Regions from separate parts of the Homo sapiens genome. Here all the other regions are linked to region 1. Evidence: promoter capture Hi-C in 16 types of primary human blood cells and fetal thymus (Javierre and others, 2016). All regions are on one chromosome and are shown on one strand. Each heading gives the region's core, a stretch centred on a gene start or on the middle of the fragment in contact. The rest is flanking DNA. Distances are from core to core; before and after follow the strand shown.

Region 1 (3,501 bases), core at 583-3,082:
AATGCAACCTTTTGTCTCCCATCTACCTATGACCTGGAAGCCCCCACTTCGAGTTGTCCCACTTTTCCAGGAGAACCAATGTATACCTTACATATGTGATTGATGTCTCATGTCTCCCTAAAATGTATAAAACCAAGCTGTGCCCCGACCACCTTGGGCACATGTCCTCAGGACCGCCTGAGGTTCTGCCACGGGTGCATCCTTAACCTTGGCAAAATAAACTTTCTAAATAAATGAACTGGGAAATATTTCTGGCCTAAGGGCATCATGAAAAAATTACTGAGAAAATTTGGGAACCTCTTCTCTAGACTCAAGAGACTCTACGTCATATAGGCACCTTTCTTGTCCCAGCTAATTTTAAATTTCACTCTTCTGAACAAATGCCCTCTGAATGCCAGTTATCCCTGCAAGAAACTCTTCTACCTCAATCTCAACGGAGAACATCCACTTATGTGGAATTACTTACCATTTGCACAAAGAAATCCTCACACCTCACTGCCAGGCAGCAGGAGGAAAGAACAAGGGTTAAAAGCAAGTGTTCTGGAGACAGACCACAAGCAAGTTTCTTAGCCTTCCTATGCCTCAGTTTCCTCGCGTTGTAAAACAGGGATGATAATAATGCCTACTCCACAGGGTTACTGTGTAGCTTCAATGACAGTTATAGGCAAGGACACTTCATTTTCATTTAAGACAAAAAGGAAAATCTGAAATGCTTGGCACAGCTCCTGGCATACAGATCTTCAATAATGCTGGGTGTTATTTTTATTCCTGTCTCTGTATGGAGCATGACCACTGGGTTCCAAAATGTATTCTACTTGGAAATCAGGCCACAGTCCCGTTAAGGATGGTGCTGAGTTTACTGGTGGCAGCGAGCTCCTTACCCCAGCAGAAAAGGGGCAGAGGCCGGGGGAAGGAGAACTTTTTTTAAAGGACTGATATGAGGTCCTTAGCTAGCAACTTCCCCCAGTGCTCAGGGGTTCTGAAGACACAGCTTGGTGCAAATTCACTTCTGACACAGGAAAAACAATTCAGAGGCCATGGATCTACTTCGGGGCGGTCCTCACGTAACGAAATGAAACGTTCAGAAACTGGTTTATTTATTTTTCTCTTGGGCCCATTTCTTTTTCGACATCCTTAGAGGACAGAAGGCAGCCCTCCCAGTTAGTTTCTCTTTCCCTCTCAACCCTGCAGCTTCCCGGCCGCCTCAAAGTGGCTTTTTGGACTCCTCTCAGCCTCAGCGGTTCCCAAGGTGACACCCTGAACCCCAGGGCGGTCCCTCGCGGCTCAGCCCCAGCCCGCAGTCCCCTCCCACACCGTGCCCAGGCCCTCCCCACCAGCCCGGCCCCCCGAGGCCCACACCTGGAGCATTTCCTGGCAGAAGGCGCGCACCGAGCGCAGCGAGGCGAGGTCCAGCTCCCGGACTATGAGCTCGCCCACCCCGCTGACGCCAGGCTCTGGGCCGCACTCCGCGGCCTGGCGGAGCTCGCGGCGGAGCTGACCCGCCGCCTCCTCGGCGCGCGCGCGGTCCCGGCAGCCCATGATCACCCGCGCTCCCAGGCGCAGTAGCTCGGCGGCCGTGGCGCGGCCCAGGCCGCTGTTCGCCCCGGTGATCAGCACAGTCTTCCCGTGCATGAGGCCGGGGTCCCCGCCTCTGCGCAGCCGCTGGACCCTGGGCCCCACGAACCGGCGGGCCGCCAGCCACAGCGCCCCGCCCAGAGCGGCCAGTACTGCCGCCGCAGTGGCCACTGCCATCGTCAGGCCCGAGGGCCCACCGGCCCCTCCACGGGAGTTCCGCAGCCGCCGCCTTACCGGAACCCAAGAGACCACCTGTACGCGGAGAACGCTGGGGCGCGGCGGGTCGGCCCCTGACGGTGCGCGTGGGGCATGCTGGGACTTGTAGTTTCCCTCTGGGGGGGTCGCCTGATTGGTTGTGAGAGTTCAGCGCCCTGGGTCCTGCGCCCTCCGTGGAAGCTCCTCCCAGCCTAATGATGGAGGCTGGGCAACCAGCACAGTGTTCAGGGTGCTGGGGTTCATACGTATTGAAATCCCAGAGTAGTGGCGGACTTCCCCATGGGAATGTCTGATGAGTACTTTGAATCACAGATCTCTGTACAGGCCCTGTTACAAATGCCACTCCTCAGGGCATTTCGTGTGTTTTCCTTTGAGGGCTCTTGGGACTTGTAAATTCAGTTCAATTCACCTTCTGAGGAATGGGCCCTGACAAGCTGAAGTCTGAGGTAGGACTGTTTTTCATAGATGAGACAAAGAATTAAGCAACATGAATCAGTTGGAAATAGAATGGTCGAGTAGTTCTCAAACTTAAATGCACATCAGAATCACCTGGAGGACTTGGGGTGGGGGTTCGGGGTGGGGGAATGAAACAAAACGAAAACAAAAAACCAGGGCCCCAGTATTAGAGTTTCTAATTCAATAGGTACAGGATGGGGCCTGATAATTTGCACTTTTAACAAGTTTCCAGGTGCTGCTGCTGCTGCAGATCTGGGAACCACACTTTGAGAACCACTGAACAAGACATTATGTCATTGGTCCCTATTAAAAAAAAGAAAGCCATCTTCAAATGATCTTCACACTGGCAGAGGTACAGTGGGAAAAGCTTGGACTTATTGTAAATATAGGCTTCTGAGCAGGCCATTTACAAATGCCTCCCTGCCCTCTCCATAGGACTATTACACACAACGATGGAAGGCAAAGTGCTTGGCTCACTGTAAAATGCCTCATTAATATCAGGGTTAGTGTCACAGGGACCCTTCTTCAAGCTACAAACTTCATAGCTGTAGACCAAGCTACTTTTAAAGACTCATTCGTTCGTCTGCCTCTCCATCCAATATGTGCCTGGCCCTGCCTGTTCCCTGTTAGAGCCACAGAGAAATGGGACACCATTTCTGCTCTCAGGGTGCTTACTTTCTGGAACTGTGATCTCCCACTTCCCACCCTCCACCCATTGCAGGTTCTCCAGACAAGGAAAAAGAACCACAGCTTGTGTCGTTTGAGACAAACTCCCCAATAATTGTGATAATCCATCTTCCACTCCCTTACATTTGGGAAGGATGTAACATGCAACTAATAGTCAGAATACAAAGAAAAAGGGATGGATTCCAGGAGGTTTCTTATGAGTAATGAGAATGGAGCTCAGAGGTGGGAAAGAGCACTCTTACTGGGGATTATACAAGGCACCAGGAACAGGAATCATGAGAGGTGGTCCTACACCACCCTATCCCCAATTTGAAGCTGCTACTCAAACTCATTGATCCCCCAGCATATGTTTCCACTTTATTGTCCTTTCTACCCATCCACATCTTGCCCATCCATCAAAATCACAGGCTACCTCAAGTCTTTCTTTCCTGACCACTTCCAGCCTATAAAGATCTCTGCTCCCTTCATGTGTGACCCTCAGGGTCATGTGTGACCCTCACTGGCACTGAAGACAAACAGCCTTCTAGTATTGGCTGTTTGAGTTTGCACATTTGACTTCCTTGACCA
Region 2 (3,630 bases), core at 695-3,194, 1.8 Mb after region 1:
AGTCTGGGCGACAGAACCAGACCCTGTCTCAAACAAGAAAAAAAGATTCATAAACAAGTATGGAATGCTTGAGAGAAACAAAATCCAAGTATTATTTGGTAATTTATATACAGTATTTGTAATGCCTGAGAATTTATTCTAAAGTGACAGCTTTGTAAGAGCAAAGTAAATGTCAGTAATTAATTTAGGCTCTTTTAAAAAGTTGAAATCTTGCTAAATGCTGAAACACCTAAGAGAACTTTGGACTCAAATTAAGGAAAGCATGTGTTAAACACAGCTTAAATTGCTGGAAAATGCGTAAGTTACTGGCAATTATAACTCAAAATAGCTAGACCTGTAAACAAAATTTAAAAACTGGACTTAAATCCTCAAGAACCAGGTTTCTGAAATAAAATTTTATTTTTAAGATTATCGTAAACCTTTTCTGCATACAAAAACTGCCCTCATGCACACCAAGAAAATTCTACACAATGCAATTTCACCAAAAATCGGAATTTTAAAGAAATTCTTGCAGCACGGAAAATGCCATCATTTTTATTCATAATGATTGAGCAAATGAAGTAAATCATTGTTTAAAAGGAGGCTAGGAAGAGAAACAAGTTGAAAATACTCATTTTTGTTTTTTTTTTTTTATTTACAGGATTCCTTAAGTCATCTTCCAATACTCCAGGTCACATGGTGAAGAGTCACCTGTTAAACACGAAATCTAACCATTAAACAAGCTTTTAAAATCCTTCGGTAACTCCCTTTATTAAAATTGTTTTCTTGACATACAGTACCTTTACAGGTATTACATTTCTCTTCACCGTTTACAAGCATTTTTCTCATGTTTTCCTTCACCAAAACATCTGCCCCGTTTTCTCAACAAGTAAAAATCTCAAAGTACTAAGTCCTAACATGATGTCTTATTGCACCTAATATGCTGGCAATACATTCCTCTCTTCAAAAGTTTACGTATGTTAGAATAAAAAGCTAAGTTAAGTAGGTTTTCTCTGGCTGTGTTTTCAGAAACAACACTAACTTTTACACGTGTTTGGGCATGAAACTTTAAACATTTTCCCCAAAACCTGACCCAATTCAGATACAAAACTACTGCTCAAATAGTAGAAGCCGCTAATCTTGTCTTTGGTTTTAATTTACATATTTTTCTGAATATCGAAATCCGTTCCTATAACCTAAACAAGGCGAATCCAAGTCACTGCTTCATACCCACATCTGTCCACGGCAAGCTTTTCCCGGACACACTCGGGCCTTTGAAAATGCCCACACTTGTTTTCATAAACCCACTCCTTCCTCTTCACCCACTTGCAATCCGCATGCTTCTCTGGGGCCACCCGGCCTCTCCCCTCTTTCCGAACCCTAGGGCCGACAGCTCGGTCTCTAACCTCCAGCGCGCCGAATCGGAGGGAGAACCGGGTCGGCGCCCCACGCCCCCGAGGCGGCGGCCCCGCAGAGGGAAGGAAGCGGGAAAGCGGCCGGCGCGGCGCCCCCTCCCCCGCACGCGCACACCCCCTTCCGGCACCCCTCCCCCTGCATTGTGCGAGCGGGCCCCAGGCCGCACCGGCCCGGGCACTCAGCAGGCCCTATCCGCCCTCCCGCTGGCGATCGGCTCCCGCCGAGGCCGCCGCACAAAGCCTGGGGAGCCATCCTCGACGGCGCCAAAGGACCGGAGAAAGAGCGAACGCGGACTGACTTACAGGGCTGCTGCGGCCGCGCTGCCTCAGCCGGGGACACCGACCGTTGGGCACACGGCGGCGTCGCTCTTGGCGGTCCTCCCCCTCCTCCGCCTTCGGTGGCGGCAATGTCTTCTTTCTCCACCTACCACCCTCCCCCCCCACCCCACCTCCTCCTTCTCCTCCCCCTCCTCCTCCGAACCACCGAAGTACCGAGGGTGAGACACAGAGACTCACAACAACATGGCTGCCACCGCCGCCTGCCCTCCCCTCCCCCCCGCCCACCGGGCGCGCGCAGTGCACCCCGGGAGAAAGGGGAGGGGGAGCGCTCACCAAGGCGCGGCTCCTTTTAATGCCTTGCGTCCCTGCTCCCGCGCTGCCGCCGCGCGGGCCGGGGGCGCCCTGCGCGTGCGCACGTTCTCCGCGCTCTCACGTGTTTGGCCGCCTCTCCGGCGTGCCCTCCCCCGCCCTCACCTTGCGGGCTCGCGCTTCCCTCCTGGGCTCCGCCGCGGCGGGCTCGGAGAGCGCAGGCGTACTGTTGCCAAACGCTGTGTTCGACTGTCTTCCCGCGTGGGGCCTCGCCTTCTGAATCTTCTTACCCTCGGCTTCCTACCCGGTTGCTCACTGTTTTCCCCCAACTGGGTGTGCGGGTGTCTGCGCCCGCGCCGCCCACCGTGGGGTACTCCTGGCATTTCGCTTCCAGAGTGCTGGCGCCCACAAGAGCCGGACGTTAATTCAGGCCTTTAACTTTCACTCTGTACCTCCCCACAACCAGACGAGGGAGATGCATCTGGGGGTGGAAGATTGTACCCTGCGAGAGGGCTGTCACTCTTCTCGTGGTTGCACCCCAGGCAGGTGGAGCCAGCTCTCAGCAAATTGTCGGCCCCCAGTGCTTGGTCCCGGTGCACACAAAGGAAACTCAGGTCGTTCTCCAGCTGGGCCAGTGATTCTCACTCGTTGGCTGTTTCTTTTTCTCGCGTACTAAGCGCTCTCTCCTTCCCCGTTTACAGGCTAGTTGGAAACTCCAAATCTGCCTTGCTGTCCTGGACCCCCATGCAAAGCAGTGGTGATTCCAGGATTCTAACCTAACCGGCTCCAGGTCACACAGCTGTAACAGGCACCGTGTCCGATTTGTTCTTGATGGTTTGTTTGCACAGCTCCTGGCTCTCCTGACATGCTGCACTTCGTAAATATTCAGGGCCTCCCGTATAGTTTGCTTAATATATGTCTTCCCTAGGCGACTGTGAGCTCCACGAGGGCAAGGACCTTGTGTTTTGTTTCACACTGTGCCCGCAAGTGCCTGTTGAATACACATGGGCTCTTCGGTTTTTAACTATTACTGAAAAATGTCTGACATTGAAATCCATCCCAAGCCCCTACCTTAGGCTCATATTTCAGGCTTCTAGATATTTTCACTTGAATTTTCTTGTCACCAAGCATGTTAAAAACTGAAGTCACACCCATCCCCTACCCCCCACTCTTGTACTGTCTCTGTAATTGGCAGTGTCACCACCTATTCATTCCCCAAATTACACCTCTGAGAACCATCCTTGTCTCTTCCTCTTACCCCGACTCCAAATATAAATAACTTACCAAGCCTCGCAGATTTTTACTTCCCAAGTAATTCTGGAGACAGTCTTCCTCTGCCTCCTCACTAATGCTAGCCTTGCTTCCCAGGTCTGGATTTCTGTAGCTGGCTCTTAATCAGCTTTCCTGTCTCCAGTCTCACTCCCTCCAATCAGTTCTGCTCACTGCTATCTAAAATGCAAATCCAATTCCTGGCGCTCAGGCCTCTGCTTCAACCATCTCATTGCTCCCCATCACCCACGACAGCATTTCCCTAGTGTGCTGTGTTCAGTGTTAATAGATGTTCCTTTAAGAAATGTCTCACGATCAAGTAAGAATGGGAGATGCTGGGGTGTACACATTTTGCCTTCCTTCTCCTTTCCCCTCCGTT
Region 3 (3,388 bases), core at 1-2,500, 1.4 Mb after region 1:
TCACAGGATTTCTTTTAGACTCCTAATAATATAGTACAATAATTAGACATAGCATAACACAGTGACTTATTTTCATTCTTCATTATTTTTCATTTTCCATTAATAACTCAGCAAAAACCATCCGATGTTTACATTCAACATTCTCTGAACTTTATTGCAAATATACTCCAGAAAAACACCATAAAATGTTTTGGTAGTTTTCCCTTTAAAATAATCAGAACTGCATATTGACAGATAACATGAGTAGACCGCACTGAACAAATAACATTAGCCAATTTACTACCAAACATGTGGGCTTGCATTCATTTACCTGTCTGCGTCTCTAATTTCAAAACTTTCAGTAATCCATCTTCACCACCGCATGCTATGAACCCTTGTTCCTTGTTCCAGGATACACACTGCAGCTTCACGTTATTGGGAATGGAAATCTGAAAAAGCAACCACAGCCGCACTAGCAACTTTTCACGAAGGAGCTGGGAAGTAAGTCTGCAGGAGATGAAAGCTGAAGAAAATCTTCCAAGAAGAAAAACGAACGGCCTTGCAGAAAAAAAATGAGCTGTTGTGAAAATGGGCATGGTCCCCTGAACTGACCCGGGCTCTAGCATTTGGGAAAGAGGGAAAGAAGTGCACAAAAGAGAAGGATAGTGACTGCGGAGGAAGCCAACGCCAGAGTCTCACCGGATGGATTTTTTAAAGGGAGGACGGGGAGAGGGTATAAATCCATACCACCAGTCCCTCTTCCTTTTTACCTACAACTTAGGCTATCCTATTGTTATTTCTTTTCTCTTGCCCAATGGCTCGTGGTGATCCAAAGAGTTTAAATCACGTGGATCAGCAACAAGTGGAGGAGGAAACATAGGGTAGCACGTGGCGACTTATCCTCAAGCCACCCAAAAGGACCTAGCCAGGGGCAGGAATGGGAGAGTGCTGCGAGAGGGCAGCAAGCTCGGCCAAAGACTGAGGCTCTGGGAACCGCAGGAAGAGGTCGGAGGCTGGACCCGGCGGGAAGGATGGCTGCGGAATGGCGAAGCCACGACCAGGACCGGGTGAAGGAGCCTGGCTTCTCGGGAAGGCAGCGGGAATCGCCGCAGGCTGCGGGAATGGCGGAGAAACGAGGACGCCCCCCAGGAAACTCACTTTCTTGCTCAGGTAGAAGAACATCGTGGGATCCCCGAGAGGGTCACGGCGGCCGCTAAGGCCCTCGACAAGTAACGGTTCTACGTCTCCAATCGGGAGTACCAGCAGCTCCGGAAAGCTCCCGTCGCCCTGGCAACCGCTGTTGCCCGGTCGCATCCGGGGCGCCGCGGGACACTTCCGGTGACGCCCTCGCACCGGGCACCGGCGTAGTGCGCCTGCGCGGACGTCGATGGGTTTGTGGGCGCAGGGCGCGAGGCGCGAGGCGGTAGCTGGGCTAGTCCTGTTCCCTGGCGTCTGGGCCTTTCTGCTCTCCGCAAGGAGCTGGGTCGCGACCTGTCACTGCCAGCCGTGCGCTCGCCCTCTGCGCCCCGTCTCGTGGTCACTGCCGCCCTCCCTCCCGCCACACCTGTGATGATCGCTATGGAGCCGCGCCTCAGGTGGCATTACTATAAACCTAAGAGGAGAGGCGCCCGTTCGAATAAGGGCAAATTATTTAGTATTTTGTAAGTTCCAAAGTTCCAACATTCTTGAAAGGGAAAAGCCATTTACTGTATTTGATAGGCTGGCGCCACTGGCCAGATGAAAGTGCAAATGTGCGTACTGAGATCTTACAACCCTTCTCTGTGTCTTTGGGGATTGGAGAACCTCTAGAGCAATTTAGGAATAGAAGATTTTGTTTATTCCGCTTGTTTTGATATTTTTTAACAGTTTAATTATTACCGCAACCCCGAGGGTCCTTTTAAAGGAATTTCTGTAAACGTTGGGTAATTACAGCGTACAATTGCTATTGGGGCATGGCCTCCCATTTTACAAATATTTGAGCGTTTGGTGTTTTCTCGTCTAGAGTCGACTGTTACATATTCTCTTCTTTTTCTTACCTTCTTTCTTCATTCTCCTTTGTCCTTTTGGAATGCTTGAGAGTTACAAAGCCTCAAAGTCTAAGGCATAGGGCAGAAATCCAAGTAGAACCACTCATGAAATTATTTGGTCTCACCTATGTTTTTATTTCTGGTTTTCCCTTTTACCATAATCTAGCATGTAATTTATGCATCAGTAGTTAATTTCCCCACTTGGAGTCTTTTCCCATCTCAGACAAAAATAAAATAAAAATCCTCCAATCCTTTGACCTGGGTGATTTGTCTCACCCAGCACAATCTATTATAGAATTGACAATAGTCCCTAGTGCCTTTCCTAGCAAATCTAAACTCCATCCAAAATCAGATCTTCCCTCAATCCTAAATGTTTTTACTAGGGAGCCCCCACCTCAAGTAAGCCAATATGCTTTCTGCAGGGCAACATTCCATCCGGCTCTGCTTCCCAAGCCACTTTATATATGGTCCTACCCTCTTAACAGGCCAGTTGTGCCTAGCCAAACCAGCACAAATCAGTCTCCATGAGGAATTCTTTCCAAACTTAACCCAATCCCATTCAGATAATGTTTGCTTTCCATTGTTTGTGTGTCTGTTTAAGATACATTGGCCCCTGTCCATAGGCTCCCTATACTGGACGCATGAGACAAATTAGTATTATCTAACCCAGGAGTTTCCAATAAACTGGTCAAGACATAATTAGTTGAAGCTAGTTACTGATGGTGACACCTGAAAACTCACCTCTCTTTATCTTTCCCTTCTTGCACATGAACTCTCATTTATTCCTTCTATACCACCATTTCTCTGTGGTATATTAATATGTATTACTGATTTTGGGCTCAAAAAAGTCTGGAAAATACTACTGTAGCTCTATGTCATACCCTTTCAAAATTTTTGAAAAGTAAGAGATGCTTTATATATTTCCTTGGTATATTTAGTTTTTGTTCCTTCCTTAAAGTTTATATTTTATATTTACATCTGTAGGATATATTTGCTTCTCAGGAGCTTATATTAATGTAAAGCTCATCATTATTTTATCCAAATTTAGATAATTTTATATTGAAGCCTTTCTTTTGAACCTGAACTTACACTTTTAGCCTCAGGAGTGTGAGATTAAACTATAGGAGGAGAATCAAACTTCTGTCTTTTGATAAGAAACTGTTGAATATCAAAATAACTGTTAATTCAGTATAATTTAAAGAAATATCTTTAATAGACAAAATTGATGAGTCATCAAAAATAGACATGATAATATGTAAAGGTAATAACTTTTATTATATTAAAGACAATGCAAACGAAAAACAGAATTGAGCAGTGCAAAATTTAAAGGACTGTTTTGTTCTCAAAGTTGCAAGTTTCAAAGCCAAAAGAATTATATGTAT
Region 4 (3,409 bases), core at 290-2,789, 1.3 Mb after region 1:
TCTCCACCTTCACAGGCCATCTGACTACCTGCGCAGCTGTTTAAAGAGCAAACCGCGCATGAGTTAGGCCGCTTGGCCCTCCCATTCAGACCCCTCAGGCCGCCTGTGGACAGCCTGGCTCACCCTCTAAGAGCCTTCCTGCCCGCCCTGGGAACACACACCGCAGGGTCCAGGGACTGGCGTCAGGAGCAGAGCGAACTCAGCGCCACCTGGGCTCCAGGCCAGGCTCTGCTCCAGGACTGGCCCCTCCCCGATTCCCATCCCTGAAGCCAGGGCCACTGGGGTTATAGTGAACCGCTTCTGAGGACACGTGCAGCTAAGGGTGAGCAACTTGTTTTTTGTTTGTTTGTGTTTTGTGTGTGTGTGGTTTTGTTTTGTTTTGTTTTTTGAGATGGAGTCTCACTCTGTCGCCCACACTGGAGTGCAATGGCGCGATCTCGGCTCACTGCAGCCTCTGCCTCCCAGATTCCAGCGATTCTCCTGCCTCAGCCTCCCGAGTAGCTGGGATTACAAGTACCTACCACCACACCAAGCTAATTTTTGTATTTTTAGTAGAGATGGGGTTTCATCATGTTGGCCAGACTGGTCACAAACTCCTGGCCTCAAGTGATCCGCCCGCCTGGGGCCTCCCAAAGTGCTGGGATTACAGGCGTGAGCCACCCCACCCTGGGTAAGCCATTTGTCTTCAAGACCCCAAGCCTTGATATCAGACAGCTGGGTTCAAATCCGATCTCTGCCCCGCCCAGCTCTGCAGCCTCGGGAAATTCTCTATGGGGCCTTTCCTCTCTTGGGTTACCACGGAGATTCGATGATGGCAGGTGCTTAAAGCTCCCCACGTGGTACCTTTCCCGTAACAGGTGCTCAGTGGTCGCGGGCTCTTCTTTAGCTTTGTCTGCATATCAGCACGACAGAAAACAGCTGCACCGTATCTCAGGCAGCCCCAGGTATGTGGAACTAAGTGATCAAAATCAGAGACATCTGCCTCTGCTGTTCTGCAAAGCCTCTGCCCTTCCTCTCACACAGACCTGATCACACCCCCACACCAAAACATACACGTGCAAGCTGCCCAGGGCCCCTTGCTGACTGCCTCAGGGTCAAGTTCACACCGATCCCCCCACCACCAGCACAATTATCCAGCCTGGAACCCCAAGTATCCATCCTAGAAGCTGCTGTCCCCTGTTGCCCTCATCCCCACCCCTCCAGCCGCCTAGAGAAGACTGGGAAAGCCCAGAGAAGAGCAGGGCAGGCCCCTCTACTTGTTCCCTTACTCAGGCAGGTCCAAGGCAGGGCCCTGGAGCCCAGGGACAGAGGACAGGGAGGGTCCTAGGCCCACCCAGCTCAGAAGCTCAGTGGAGAGGAAGGAAGGGCTCAAGAAGCTAGAAGGATGCGGTTGTTACTACCTTCGACAGAACCAACAAACCAAGCTCAGAGCCAATTCTTAGGCAGAGTGTGTCAAGTAAATCTTACTTTCAAGCCCTGGGAAGATGTACCCTCATGCTAGCGGTGGGGGTGGGCATTCCTGTTGTACTAGGGGCTGTGACCCCTCCCAAGACCCAGCCTTACAGTATGGCTGCAGAACTACCCCTCCCACTAAGTGTCCTCATCCTCCCTCAGCCACAGCCTGAGATGAGCCTGCAGGGCCTTTCCACTCAGTGACTTTAGATAAGCAGAAACAGAGGCCTGGAGAGTTTAGGGGAATTGCCCAAAACCACAGAGCGAGTAAGTGGTAGAAGCAGGTGAAATTGTTTAACATTATTTTATTTGACCCAGTATATCTAAAATATTATCATCTTGACACAATATGAAAATGTTAGAGGTACTTTACATTCTTTTATTTATACTAACTCTTAAAAATCTGGTATATATTTAACACTTAACAGCCCATCTCAGTTTGGGTGCTAAATTTTCATTGAAAATACTTGATCTGTATTTAGATTTCATAAACTTTGCAGTGGCAGATTCACATACTTTAAATGTGAATTTGTTGTTCCAAACAAAGTGTTCACATGAAGTGTGAGTTCATTTCACCCACTCCACTGCCGTACTTTAAAATTTTTTAGTAACTGAATTGTTGGCTTTGGGTTTGTTGTTGTTGTTGTTGTTTTTGGAGATAGGGTCTTGCTCTGTCACCCAGGCTGGAGTGCAGTGGTGAGATCATAGCTCACTGCAGCCTTGACTTCCCAGGCTCAAGCAATCCTCCCACCTCAGCTTCCTGAGTAGCTGGGACCACAGGCATGCACCACCATCCCCAGCTTTTTTTTTTTTTTTTTCTATTTTTTTGTAGACATGAGGTCTCACGATGTTGTCCAGGTTGGTCTTGAACTCCTGGGCTCAAGTGATCCTCCCACCTGGGCCTTCCAAAATGCTGAGATTGTAGGCGTGAGCCACTGTGCCCAGCCAGTATTTTTTATTTTAAATGAATTCAAATGAGAAATTCAGTTCCTCAGTAACACTGGTGACACTTCAAGTGTTCAGTAGTTGCATATGCTAGTGTCTATCAGTGGACAAGCTAGCACTAGATCTTTTTGCAGAATCCTTAAATGAGACCATACCCAGCTATACAGCACTTAGAAATCCATGTCTTGGCCGGGCACAGTGGCTCACACCTGTAATTCCAGCACTTTGAGAGGCAGAGGTGGGTGGATCACCTGAGATTAGGAGTTCAAGACCACCCTGGCCAACACAGTGAAACCCCGACTCTACTATAAATACAAAAATCAGCCGGGCATGGTGGTGCCCACCTGTAATCCCAGCTACTCAGGAGGCTGAGGCAGGAGAATCACTGGAACCTGGGAGGCTGAGGCTGCAGTGAGCCAAGATTGCGCCACTGCACTCCAGCCTTGGCAACAGAGTGAGACTGTGTCTCAAAAAAGAAAAGAAATCCCTGTCTTTTCTTGTCCTGTCCAAGTACTCAGTTTCTACAGGCTTCATGTTATAGGGCGGTGTGTCCCAAATCCCTCTAGCTGATTTAGGGGTATGAGTAACAGTTAAAGCATCAAGAGAAGTAGCCACCAAATAGAAATGAAAGTATGGTGCCATTTCTGCTCATGTAGCCACTACCCCTAAAGAGGCAACACTTGTAAAGCATCCATGGAGTAAAACAAGTCTGCACATCTCAACAACTCAAGGGCACTAAGCAAAGACCATGGAGCTGCAGCAACAGGATGCTATTCAGACTGTTAGGAGGCCCACACATAACTCATTTGAGAGCACAAGGTTAATAAGTGGCAGAGCCAGAACTAGAGCCTAGGTCCTTGCACTCACGGTCTGAGCTCATCAGTGTGTGAGCTCACTTCACCCACTCCATTCCTACAGCTACAGAGTTCCCCGTGGAAGTCTCAGTTGCACACCAGAGAGGCATCTGGGGGAAAATGTTCCACCTGGTCTCATGGCCTAGGAGACAAAGAAC
Region 5 (3,331 bases), core at 304-2,803, 1.5 Mb after region 1:
TTGGAACAGGGTGGAATCTCGCATTTATTAATGGGTTATCATTCATGATCAGGTTCGGACTCTAGGTAATGAAAGACCAGTAAAGCTTAGGGGGACATGGCCACCTGGTGCTGAATCTCTCCTTCCTCTTCCAGTCCCATCCCAGAGGGAGGCAGGTCAGGACTAGAGTAAGATTAACTTCCAGAAGAAAGGCTTTCCCTCAATTCCCGGCCTGGAGCAACCAGCCACCAGCTGAATCTAGCCCTGTGGACCCCGGTACCTCCTGCCTTAGCAGCAATGCTTTTGCCATTTCAAATCTGCCACTTCAAATACGGGGACTGAGTATTTGAGTCAGGAAAGAGTCCCTTGAGCTCCTTCTCAGCTTATCCAGAAAGATGCAGAAGGGGATAGACAATTGAAATCAGCCTGAGGCATGCAGCGTGGCTGGCCAAATGAGACTGCATACCCAGAAATGGCCTGGCACAGACTCTTTTTAGCAAGACTGAAGCTGCGCTTTTTGGAAATGAAGATACAATCTTATGTAAACCATATTAAGAGGTTGGTAGGCTGGGGCAGTGGAAAGAGACCTTGCTTGGGATTTCGGAGCCCTGAATTTTATTGTGGCCTCTGATACTGATTCACAGAGTCCCTTCAACTTGATATGCCTCAGTTTCCCTTCATGTGCTGTCAGGGGCTGTGTCAGACGACCTGCCCGCTTCGCTGCACTATGAGCTTTGCTCTGCTTCAGGAATCAATTGCTGACCAAAAAGAGAAATAGAATTGTTCGCCAAAGACCCAGAGTGTCTTGATCCTGGGGTATCCTACGGCTCCTCGGATCTCCTCCTGGTCTCACACCCGCATCCCTTACCTTCCAGTCTGAGGCAGCCTGAGGACTGTGGGAGGGGAGGAAAGATCACGCCCTGATATTGGATGGAGATGGAGAGATTCCAAGAGAACTAACAGCAGAGTCTCAGGAAGGGTTTGCTCACTGAATGGAGAGGTCAGGACTGGGACGGAGCTTAGCAGCAGCCGCTGGGCAGCAGCCCCTGCGCTCCCCAGCTGCCCTGTGCTCCTGGCCGAATCACAGGGGAGTGAGAGCTTCAGGAGACCCACATCTCTAGCCTGGACACATGAGTGATATTGGGCATCTCCCTCCCCTTCTCTGGACCTCAGTTTCCCCCACAGGATTCATCCGGGAGGGGCCTCTTTCCCCCGCACCACGGTCGGCCTGAGGCCGGGATGAAGCGCGCTTGGTGGATGCCCTGGGCTTCTCCTCGTTCGATGCTCACGCGTCCCTCCCGCCGCCCGCCTGTACCTGCACCGCGGGCGCGGCCAGGCTCGCTGGTCCCGGAAGCGGGCGCGCCGTCGGGAGCCGCAGGAGAGGGGCGGCGTCCAGGGCTGCCCCCGGGACCTCGGGTCTCCAGCCTCCGGAAGCCCGGGCGGGCCACGGGGTCGGGGGCGGCGGAGGGCAGCAGCAGCAGCGGCCAGAGCAGCAGGAGGAGTCCCGGGAGGCGGCGCGCGGGGGCCGGGCGCGGCATGGTGGGCTCCGTGGGCCTGGTGGTGTCCGTCGGGGGCCAGGAGCCCACGCGAGGCTCGGATTTAAAGGTCCCGCGGCCTCGGGCCCCGCCCCGCCCCGGGGCCTCGAGCGCCAGGCCGGCCCGGCGAACCCCGCCCAAGGCCAACAAGGAGCCTTGTCCGCGCATTCCAGCGGCAGAAACGGAATGTCTGGGCGAGGCGGCCAGCGGCGCGGTGGTCACCTCCCGCCCCTGCCCTAAGCCCCGAGCCGGCTGCAACTGGGTGGGCTCGGCTGCTGTCGCAACCTCCGTCCTCCCAGTAACACCGGGGCAGGGGGGGCAGCCATCCGCGGCTGCAGCCTGCCCGGCCCTCCACTCTCCCTCCCACCCCAGCGGGGCCTGCGCCCCAGGTACGGGATGGGGACCCCTGGGCTCTGCTTTCCCTTCTGCCACTGGTTTGCCCGACTGGGGCTGAAGATGAAACCCTGCTCCTAGCTCTACATTCCTTTCCTCAGCCAAGTAACCCAAGTTTTGCTGTGGGCTCTTGTTTAAAAAAAAAAAAAGAAAGAAAAGGCCTCACAGATTCTAGGGGCATGAATAGAAACGCTTTCATCCGAGCTTCAAATATCCACAAACATTTGAACTTATATTACCGGGAATAGAAAGTCAAACATACATTCCCCAGAGAGCCCCGTTAGCTGGAAGGACAGCCTGTACCAACACAGGCTTCAAAGGCTCTCCCGAGGCCCCATTTCCTCTCCGGAAGAGTTAGCATGGTACAGGGCTGGAGGCTGCCAGGGGACCCCCATGGAACTCACTGTCTGTGAGAAGGAGATTTGCATAAATGTGGTGTCTGTCTACGGGAATGTGGTGGATTTAGGAAAGAGATACTGACTGCCTGCGGAGACCAGGAAGACTTCTAAAACCAGGTGACATTTGAGCTGCGTCTTAAAACAATGGGCGCGAGTTCCAACAGAGCCTATCTGGTCGTCCTATTTCACTATTTTCCCTCTACAAGTGATCCTCCTCACACGATCCTAAACCTCACTTCTCATATTTGTACCCCATGCTGGTAGCAGCATTATACACAATAGCCAAGAGGCGGAAACAACCCAAGTGTCTCTCTTTGTGTGAATGGAAAAGCAAAATGCAGTATCTACGTACAATGGAATACTGTTCAGCCTTAAAAGGGAGGAAATTTTGGCAGATGCTACAAAATGGATGAACCTTGAGAGTATTATGTTAAGTGAAATAAGCTAGTCACAAAAAGACAAATACTGTATGATTCCATTTACATGGGGAATCTAGAGTAGTCAAATTCATAGAGACAGAAAGAATGGTGGTTAACAGGAGCTGAGGGGAAGTGGGGATGGGGAGTTGTATAATGTATCAATGACATTGGGCAGTGATAGTCACACTGAGGGAAAAGGTCACTCAACTCCCACTGAGAACTCACCAATTTAGAAGGACCTTAGAAGAAACGAGAAGTTTGTAATAATGGGAAGAGGACACTAAGAAGTTTGAAAGAAACTATGCCAAGAAGAGGAGGGATTGATAAATACAGTATTTGCAAGCTCTGGTGGACATTTGTCTTTCGTCTTGCTTTTAGAATGATCCCCAAAGCCTTTGAACCCTACATTAGTCAGGGTTCTTGAGAGAAACAAAACCAATAAATTTTATATACACATACATATAGAGAGAGGGTGGGGGGAGTAATTGAGATTATGAGGGATTGGTTCATGCGATTATGAAGGCTGAGAAGTCCCACAGTCTGCTGTCTGCAAGCTGGGGGCCCAGGAAAGCCAGTGGTGTAATCCAGTCCAAGCCTGAAGGCCCAA
Region 6 (3,314 bases), core at 403-2,902, 1.5 Mb after region 1:
TAAATATTAAACAAAATAAATCGTAGGGCCAATCAGAAGGACCAAGAAACAGTGAAATAAATTTCAATGCTACTTCATTAAAAGCTTTTTCCAAATCTTCTTTGAGTTAATTATATTCCATTAGATCACATCATTTCATTAGAACCCCAACTTACATCTTAAAGTATTACACTGGAAAACCCATCCTTGTGACTTAAAAAAATTTTTTTTGTAGAGATGGAGTCTCACTATGTTGTCCAGTCTGGTCTTGAACTCCTGGCCTCAAGTGATCCTACTGCATTGGCCTCCTAAAGTGCTAGGATGACAGGCACGAGCCACCGCTCCTGGCATCCTTTGATCTTAAAGATATTCACCAACGAACGCCTACCTTGTGCTCACATGTAAGCCCTGGCAACTTATCTCTGATTAAAGTTGATATTTCTAAATTACATGTTTAGCTTTTCAAAAAATACATAAAATTAACTGTAATCTTACAATACAAAATTTCTCTGAAAATATCCAACTATGTACTAACTATTACAAATATTTATTCCTGATTCACTTTTTCCTTTCACTGTATTCAGGAAAGAAAGTTAATAAAAATGTAATTTAAAAAGAATGATTAAGCTGGGGACAGTGGTGTGTGCCTGTAGTCCCAGCTGGTCAGGTGCCTGAGGTGGGAGGATTGTTTGAGCCCAGTTCAAGGCTGCAGTGTGCTATAATCATGCCATTGCACACCAGCACAGGCAACATAGCAAGACCCCATCTCTTTAAAAAAAAAAAAAAAAGATTAAATTATTAACTTCTAAACTTGGCAATATGGAGAGGTATAGAATGCAGCAATATTTTAGCAGCATGGGCTGCGGATTCACCACTCAATGTGTTAACAGTACTGTAAATTTAATCAGTCAAATCAGGTGGTGTGCATTGTTTTTGAAAGCTTCTACATCTTATGTAAGTGTGTACAATAAGAAATCTGTTAGATTTGACTTGTTACAAAATAACTGTATCAGATCCATGGAAGCACAGGGCCTGAAGAGAGGAATTCTTTGTTTTCTTCTTTCACTGCCACACCTATTCCAGAAGATTCTCTGGAGACTTTAAAAAAAAAATCATTTTTCAGTTTTCCCACAGTAATTTGCCCAGAGCCAGTATCTACTGAGATAATAATTAAAACAGTGTGTCTGGTTTAAGGAGGCATCCAGATAAGGGCTTCCCATGCAGAGAAAGCACCCACAGGAGGGTCAATCTACAGAACTAAGCAAAGCCTGTTATCTGATAAAGATCAAAATTGACTATCTTTAAAACGTTTTTTAGCCATAAAAAAGGATTAGTTCATGTCCTTTGCAGGGACATGGATGAAGCTGGAAACCATCATTCTCAGCAAACTATTACAAGGACAGAAAACCAAACACCGCATGTTCTCACTCATAGGTGGGAACTGAACAATGAGAACACTTGGACACAGGGTGGGGAACATCACACACCTACACCAGGGCCTGTCAGCGGGTGGCGGGCTGGGGGAGGGATAGCATTAGGAGAAATAACTAATGTAAATGATGAGTTGATGGGTGCAGCAAACCAACATGGCACATGTATACCTATGCAACAAACCTGCACGCTGTGGACATGTACCCTAGAACTTACAGTATAATTTAAAAAAAAAAAGTTTTTTGTTGTTGTTTACTGTTACATGCAGATACAACTGAGTATTCACAATATTTTTTGGAGGAGACATTCATTCAACAAATGTGTAATGAACACCTCAAATGTTTTAATTAATAAGTTAGCCATCACACACATTTTATTTTGAGACAGGGTCTCATTCTGTCACCCAGGATGGAGAGTAGTTACTGCGATCTAGGCTCACTGCAACCTCTGCCTCCCCGGCTCAAGTGATCCTCCCACTTCAGCCTCCCCTGTAGCTGGGACTACAGGCATGCACCACCACACCATGCCCCGCTAATATATATATGTATGTATGTGTGTGTGTATATATATTTTTATATGTTTTATATATATTTATATATTATATATCTATATATAAATATATATTATATAAATATATATATAATATAATATATAAATATATATATAATATAATATATATTTTTTTTTGGTAGAGAGGGGGTTTCGTCATGTTGCTCAGGCTGGTCTCGAACTCCTGGGCAATCCACCTGCCTTGGCCTCCCAAAATGCTGGGATTACAGGCGTGAGCCACTGCCCTTATAAAGACATCACCCTCTTCCCTCCAGGAGAACATCTTGCTGTAGAGAGAAAAATAAGAGAAAAGGACAATCCTACCAATGTGTACTGAGTACTATTTAATAAGTACATACAAGAAGGATCCAGAAACTTTTGCAGGTGCACCGTGAGAAAAACAGATCCCCCTGGCTAGGAAGTAAAGAAAGCTTGGCTGGGCATGGTAGCTCACGCCTGTAATCCCAGCACTTTGGGAGGCCAAGGCAGGCAGATCATGAGGTCAGGAGATCGAGACAATCCCGGCCAACACGGTGAAACCCCGTCTCTACTAAAATACAAAAAATTAGCCCGACATGGTGGCGGGTGCCTGTAGTCCCAGCTATTTGGGAGGCTGGGGCAGAGGAATCGCTTGAACCTGGGAGGCGGAGGTTGCAGTGAGCCGAGATCGCACCACTGCACTCCAGCCTGGTGACAGAGCAAGACTCTGTCTCAAAAAAGAAAAAAAAAAAAAAAGGCCGGGCGCGGTGGCTCACGCCTGTAATCCCAGCACTTTGGGAGGCCGAGGCGGGTGGATCATGAGGTCAGGAGATCGAGACCATCCTGGCTAACAAGGTGAAACCCCGTCTCTACTAAAAATACAAAAAATTAGCCGGGCGCGGTGGCGGGCGCCTGTAGTCCCAGCTACTCGGGAGGCTGAGGCAGGAGAATGGCGTGAACCCGGGAAGCGGAGCTTGCAGTGAGCCGAGATTGCGCCACTGCGGTCCGCAGTCCGGCCTGGGCGACAGAGCGAGACTCCGTCTCAAAAAAAAAAAAAAAGGAAAGTTTTACCACGAAAACATGTGAGCTAACCATTAAATTATCTGGACTTGGCAAAATGTTGTTAATGGTTGAAGCTGGGTGATGAATAAATGGGAGGTTTTCGTACTACTTCACTACTTTTGTATGTATGAAAATTTCCTTAATAAAATTTTTAGAAAGTGACTTGGGAGGACAGCAACATTTCAGGGAGAAGGAATAGCATATGCAAAGGCAGAGGCACAAAACTTCCTTAGTTTAAGGAAGGAAACTAACAAATATAAACAAGCTATGCTTACTTGAAGTCAGAGGTGAGGGCTAGAAAGGAATAGAGCTTA
Region 7 (3,204 bases), core at 676-3,175, 1.4 Mb after region 1:
TTAATCTTTACAACAGCACCATGACGTATTTCCTTTATTTCTGAAAATAACTAAACTGTGTCTCAGAGGCTAAATAACTTCTCTACGTCAAACTACACTGTGGAAAATGAATTCAATACCAGATCAACTTGACTACAAACCCTATGCTCTGTTATCTCCTACCATGGCTAAGACCACAGTGCAAAACCCAGGAGCCCCTGGCCCTCAGAATTTAAAAGCAAATTCTTCTCTGAGGTTTTCTTAAGTTTAAATCATTAAGTTTAAATTGTTAGATAACTTCCATCCAGGTTATCTTTCCTACCTTAACAATAACACAGATCCAAATAATTCCCCATATATTCACTCACTCAGAAAATACTGACTACTATGACCTGAGGAACTATGCTAGATACTTTTAGTTACAGCTAAACCAAACCCCACTTACAGTTTTCCGTTTAACACTTAACACATTGTTTTGCAAGACAAACAAACAGACTTTAGAACCCATGTTTTTCTACCTGGGGAAGGCTGAACTAACAAAAATAAGCAGATAAAACATTATGATAAATAAGTAAATGGCAACCAACAAAAATAACCAATAAAGAACAAGAATTAAGAAGGAGGCTATAAATATAGAAATAATTAGAATGCAGATTTTTAATTATTTAGGAACCTTGAAAACTATGCTTTTTTTTTTCCTTCACTTTTACATCTACGAGAAATATTGTCGTTTGACAATGTATAGAGAGCATCTACGTTCTACAGTATATTCTACTGGGTAACTTTGAGATACTGATTCAAAAGCATCAGAAGACATCATTTCTTGCCCTAAAAGAAATTATTAAAATATATAAAAATAACATTAAAACAACTGGTATAGGCTTTTATGCAGCCAAAAATATATATCACTGTAGTCTATGGCGAATTTATAAAAGCCAACAGGGTATTCAAAAGGGACAAAATATAGTACTGGGTTAGAAAATAAGACATTCAAAAAACGTATTAAGCTTAGTTATTAATAAGCTCTCACTTTCTAAATTCTTTAAAATTCACAATATATTAATTCTCCTACTTGACATTTTCCAATGCTACTTCTGAAAATTCTTTTAAAATTAAATTTATTAAAAATACTATTGAGAAGGATAATACTCATATGTACATTTATGAAAACAATGCTTTTATTTTAATGTAGCATCACCTAAGATTAATTATTAAATTTTCTTCAAATAACTGATTACTTTGCAACAAATTAAAAGTATTAGAAGTTTGAAGGAAGGACAGACAGATATGTATGTTTAACATCTAAACACATTTAAAATATCACATTAAAAATCAGAAAAATTAATCTGAAACAACTATATTATACTAAATACTACTCAAAAGCTGGCTATGAAAAGAGACACATATTCAGATCACAGAGAAAATATTCAAAATAACTACTCCATGGTGATTTCTTATGTTAAACTTCTGGTTTTCTGAATGTATAAAATTGTAATTTTTATTTTATAATTATAAAACTATAAGATTATAAAATTCCATGATAAAATACAACAAAGATTTATACTATGAAGATGAAATGTCCCTAAAAGAAAATGTGATAAGTTTACACCGTTTCCTTTGTTATTTTTTCCTCTACCTTACTCACTGCACATTTAAATAGAAAGAAAGAAGATCAATTTGAATGCATTTACCTCACCAAACGGAGTGTAAAACTGCACAATGTTCACATCTTTGTCCTGCATGGCTGCCTTCTGGAAGCCTGCCACAGCTAACACGCTGCCCATGTGGTTCCACTGGATGCCTACTACGTACATGCCAGTGTCAATCAAAACGGGATCTAGTCAGAAAGAGAAAAATGAGGTCACTGTGGGAAAATACGTAGCCTAGAGAACTTTATAATCTTAAGAACAACTTTTAAACATTTTTAAAACTTTCCACATTTTTAAAAAAACAGGGCTGGGTACAACGGCTCACGCCTATAATCCCAACACTTTAGGAGGCTGAGGCGGGCGGATCACTTGAGTCCAGGAGTTCAAGATCGGCCTGGGCAACATGGTGAAACCCTGTCTCTACGAAAAATACAAAAATTAGCTGGAGGAGTTGGTGCACACCTGTGGTCCCAGCTCCTCAGGAGGCTGAGACCTTGAGCCTGGGAGGCCAAGGCTGCAGTGAGCCAAGAACGCACCACTGCACTCCAGCCTCGGCAACAGAGCAAGACCCTGTCGCAAAAAAAAAAAAGTTAAAAATTAGAAATTGAGGCCGGGCACAGTGGCTCACGCCTGTAATCCCAGCACTTTGGGAGGCTGAGGCAGGTGGATCACGAGGTCAGGAGATAGAGACTATCCTGGCTAACAGGGTGAAACCCCGTCTCTACGAAAAATATAAAAAATTAGCCAGGCATAGTGGCACGCCCTGTAGTCCCAGCTACTCGGGAGGCTGAGGCAGGAAATTCGCTTGAACCCGGGAGGCAGAAGTTGCCGTGAGCCAAGATCGTGCCACTGCACTCCAGCCTGGGCGACAGAGTGAGACTCCATCTCAAAAAGAAAAAAAAAAAAATAGAAATTAAAAAAATTTTTTAAACAGAAAAATTCCTTACTTTGGTCATTCTCATGTCTCATTATTTGGCATCTTCCATTATCAAAGCAAACAGCAAGGCAAGGGCAATCAGGCTCCACGTAGCCTTCTGTGCCATGGTACCAATGAATTCCAGCAATGCTGATAGCTCCAGTGACATTCACCAAACAACTCAGTTTCATTTTTATCTAAATAAAATTGGTTAGGTTTAATATTTTACATTTTAAAACACAGCAGTATAGAGACAATACTCAATAGAGTATTGTAGAAAGAACACTGAAAAATACAGTCTAAAAATCAGGTGGCAAATTAAAGCTTAATCACTTACTGGTATACAGGCCATGGACAAATCACCTAAATGTCCATTTTCCCCACATGTAAAAAATGAGGATTAAAAAACACTGAGTTTTTATGAGACTCAAACAACAAGTATATAAAAGTACTTTGAAAACAGCAAAATGACATAAAAGTTCATTATTTTACTTCCACCAGTGAGTGGATTTACTTAATGTCCTAACCCTTGCTAAAAAACAAAACTGCCCCACCAGTAATCATACATCTATGATAGCTAAACCTTGCAAAGCCAGAATTTTTCTCCAGATTATGCTGCCTGATCCTATTCTATTTTACCTTCTTTCCAGGGATTGATTT

What was found. Contacts are between HindIII fragments. The CHiCAGO score rates a contact against its expected background, and 5 or more counts as called.
Region 2: a contact is called between the fragment with the promoter of PUM2 here and the fragment with the promoter of RDH14 in region 1, in 8 of 17 cell types (activated CD4 T cells, naive CD4 T cells, total CD4 T cells and 5 more). The highest score is 15.0, in activated CD4 T cells.
Region 3: a contact is called between the fragment with the promoter of WDR35 here and the fragment with the promoter of RDH14 in region 1, in 5 of 17 cell types (non-activated CD4 T cells, total CD8 T cells, total CD4 T cells and 2 more). The highest score is 13.8, in non-activated CD4 T cells.
Region 4: a fragment that was not itself captured here is called in contact with the fragment with the promoter of RDH14 in region 1 in 12 of 17 cell types (total CD8 T cells, non-activated CD4 T cells, fetal thymus and 9 more); the score reaches 18.6 in total CD8 T cells.
Region 5: the fragment with the promoter of MATN3 here is called in contact with the fragment with the promoter of RDH14 in region 1 in 9 of 17 cell types (naive CD4 T cells, activated CD4 T cells, total CD8 T cells and 6 more); the score reaches 20.9 in naive CD4 T cells.
Region 6: a contact is called between a fragment that was not itself captured here and the fragment with the promoter of RDH14 in region 1, in 1 of 17 cell types (total CD8 T cells). The highest score is 8.8, in total CD8 T cells.
Region 7: a contact is called between a fragment that was not itself captured here and the fragment with the promoter of RDH14 in region 1, in 4 of 17 cell types (total CD4 T cells, total CD8 T cells, naive CD8 T cells and 1 more). The highest score is 12.5, in total CD4 T cells.

What each region holds. Positions count from the first base shown.
Region 1 is chr2:18,558,821-18,562,321 of GRCh38, forward strand. RDH14 (retinol dehydrogenase 14) reads right to left here and starts at 1,833. Exons shown (of 2, transcript NM_020905.4): 1 at 1,360-1,833. The coding sequence starts at 1,752. The region is part of intron 10 of NT5C1B-RDH14 (NT5C1B-RDH14 readthrough); the gene reads right to left. It overlaps LOC105373456 (a long non-coding RNA gene), which reads left to right and starts at 1,356. Exons shown (of 6, transcript XR_007086234.1): 1 at 1,356-1,871. RefSeq lists enhancers at 993-1,042, 1,853-1,902, 1,963-2,012, 2,023-2,242 and a silencer at 1,253-1,762. The HindIII fragment of the contact is 4,929 bases long and covers 1-2,612 here.
Region 2 is chr2:20,348,900-20,352,529 of GRCh38, forward strand. PUM2 (pumilio RNA binding family member 2) reads right to left here and starts at 1,945. Exons shown (of 21, transcript NM_015317.5): 1 at 1,698-1,945. RefSeq lists a silencer at 1,328-2,217 and enhancers at 1,413-2,042, 2,043-2,674, 2,378-2,467, 2,675-3,304. The HindIII fragment of the contact is 4,637 bases long and covers 1,228-3,630 here.
Region 3 is chr2:19,988,855-19,992,242 of GRCh38, forward strand. It overlaps WDR35 (WD repeat domain 35), which reads right to left and starts at 1,251. Exons shown (of 27, transcript NM_020779.4): 1 at 1,138-1,251; 2 at 311-428. The coding sequence starts at 1,161. It overlaps WDR35-DT (WDR35 divergent transcript), which reads left to right and starts at 1,350. Exons shown (of 3, transcript NR_110235.1): 1 at 1,350-1,640. It overlaps MATN3 (matrilin 3), which reads right to left. Exons shown (of 8, transcript NM_002381.5): 8 at 3,198-3,388. RefSeq lists enhancers at 982-1,031, 1,048-1,551, 1,182-1,231 and a silencer at 1,392-1,471. The HindIII fragment of the contact is 12,234 bases long and covers 1-3,388 here.
Region 4 is chr2:19,863,726-19,867,134 of GRCh38, forward strand. No RefSeq gene overlaps it. Among named protein-coding and RNA genes, the nearest start is that of LINC00954, 3.4 kb to the right of the region's middle. RefSeq lists an enhancer at 1-286. The HindIII fragment of the contact is 8,711 bases long and covers 1-3,409 here.
Region 5 is chr2:20,011,115-20,014,445 of GRCh38, forward strand. MATN3 (matrilin 3) reads right to left here and starts at 1,554. Exons shown (of 8, transcript NM_002381.5): 1 at 1,295-1,554. The coding sequence starts at 1,517. RefSeq lists an enhancer at 658-1,270. The HindIII fragment of the contact is 3,809 bases long and covers 84-3,331 here.
Region 6 is chr2:20,044,715-20,048,028 of GRCh38, forward strand. The region is part of intron 1 of LAPTM4A (lysosomal protein transmembrane 4 alpha); the gene reads right to left. Among named protein-coding and RNA genes, the nearest start is that of LAPTM4A, 5.3 kb to the right of the region's middle. The HindIII fragment of the contact is 1,471 bases long and covers 918-2,388 here.
Region 7 is chr2:19,971,893-19,975,096 of GRCh38, forward strand. WDR35 (WD repeat domain 35) reads right to left here. Exons shown (of 27, transcript NM_020779.4): 7 at 2,576-2,741; 8 at 1,671-1,816. Among named protein-coding and RNA genes, the nearest start is that of WDR35, 17 kb to the right of the region's middle. The HindIII fragment of the contact is 1,882 bases long and covers 985-2,866 here.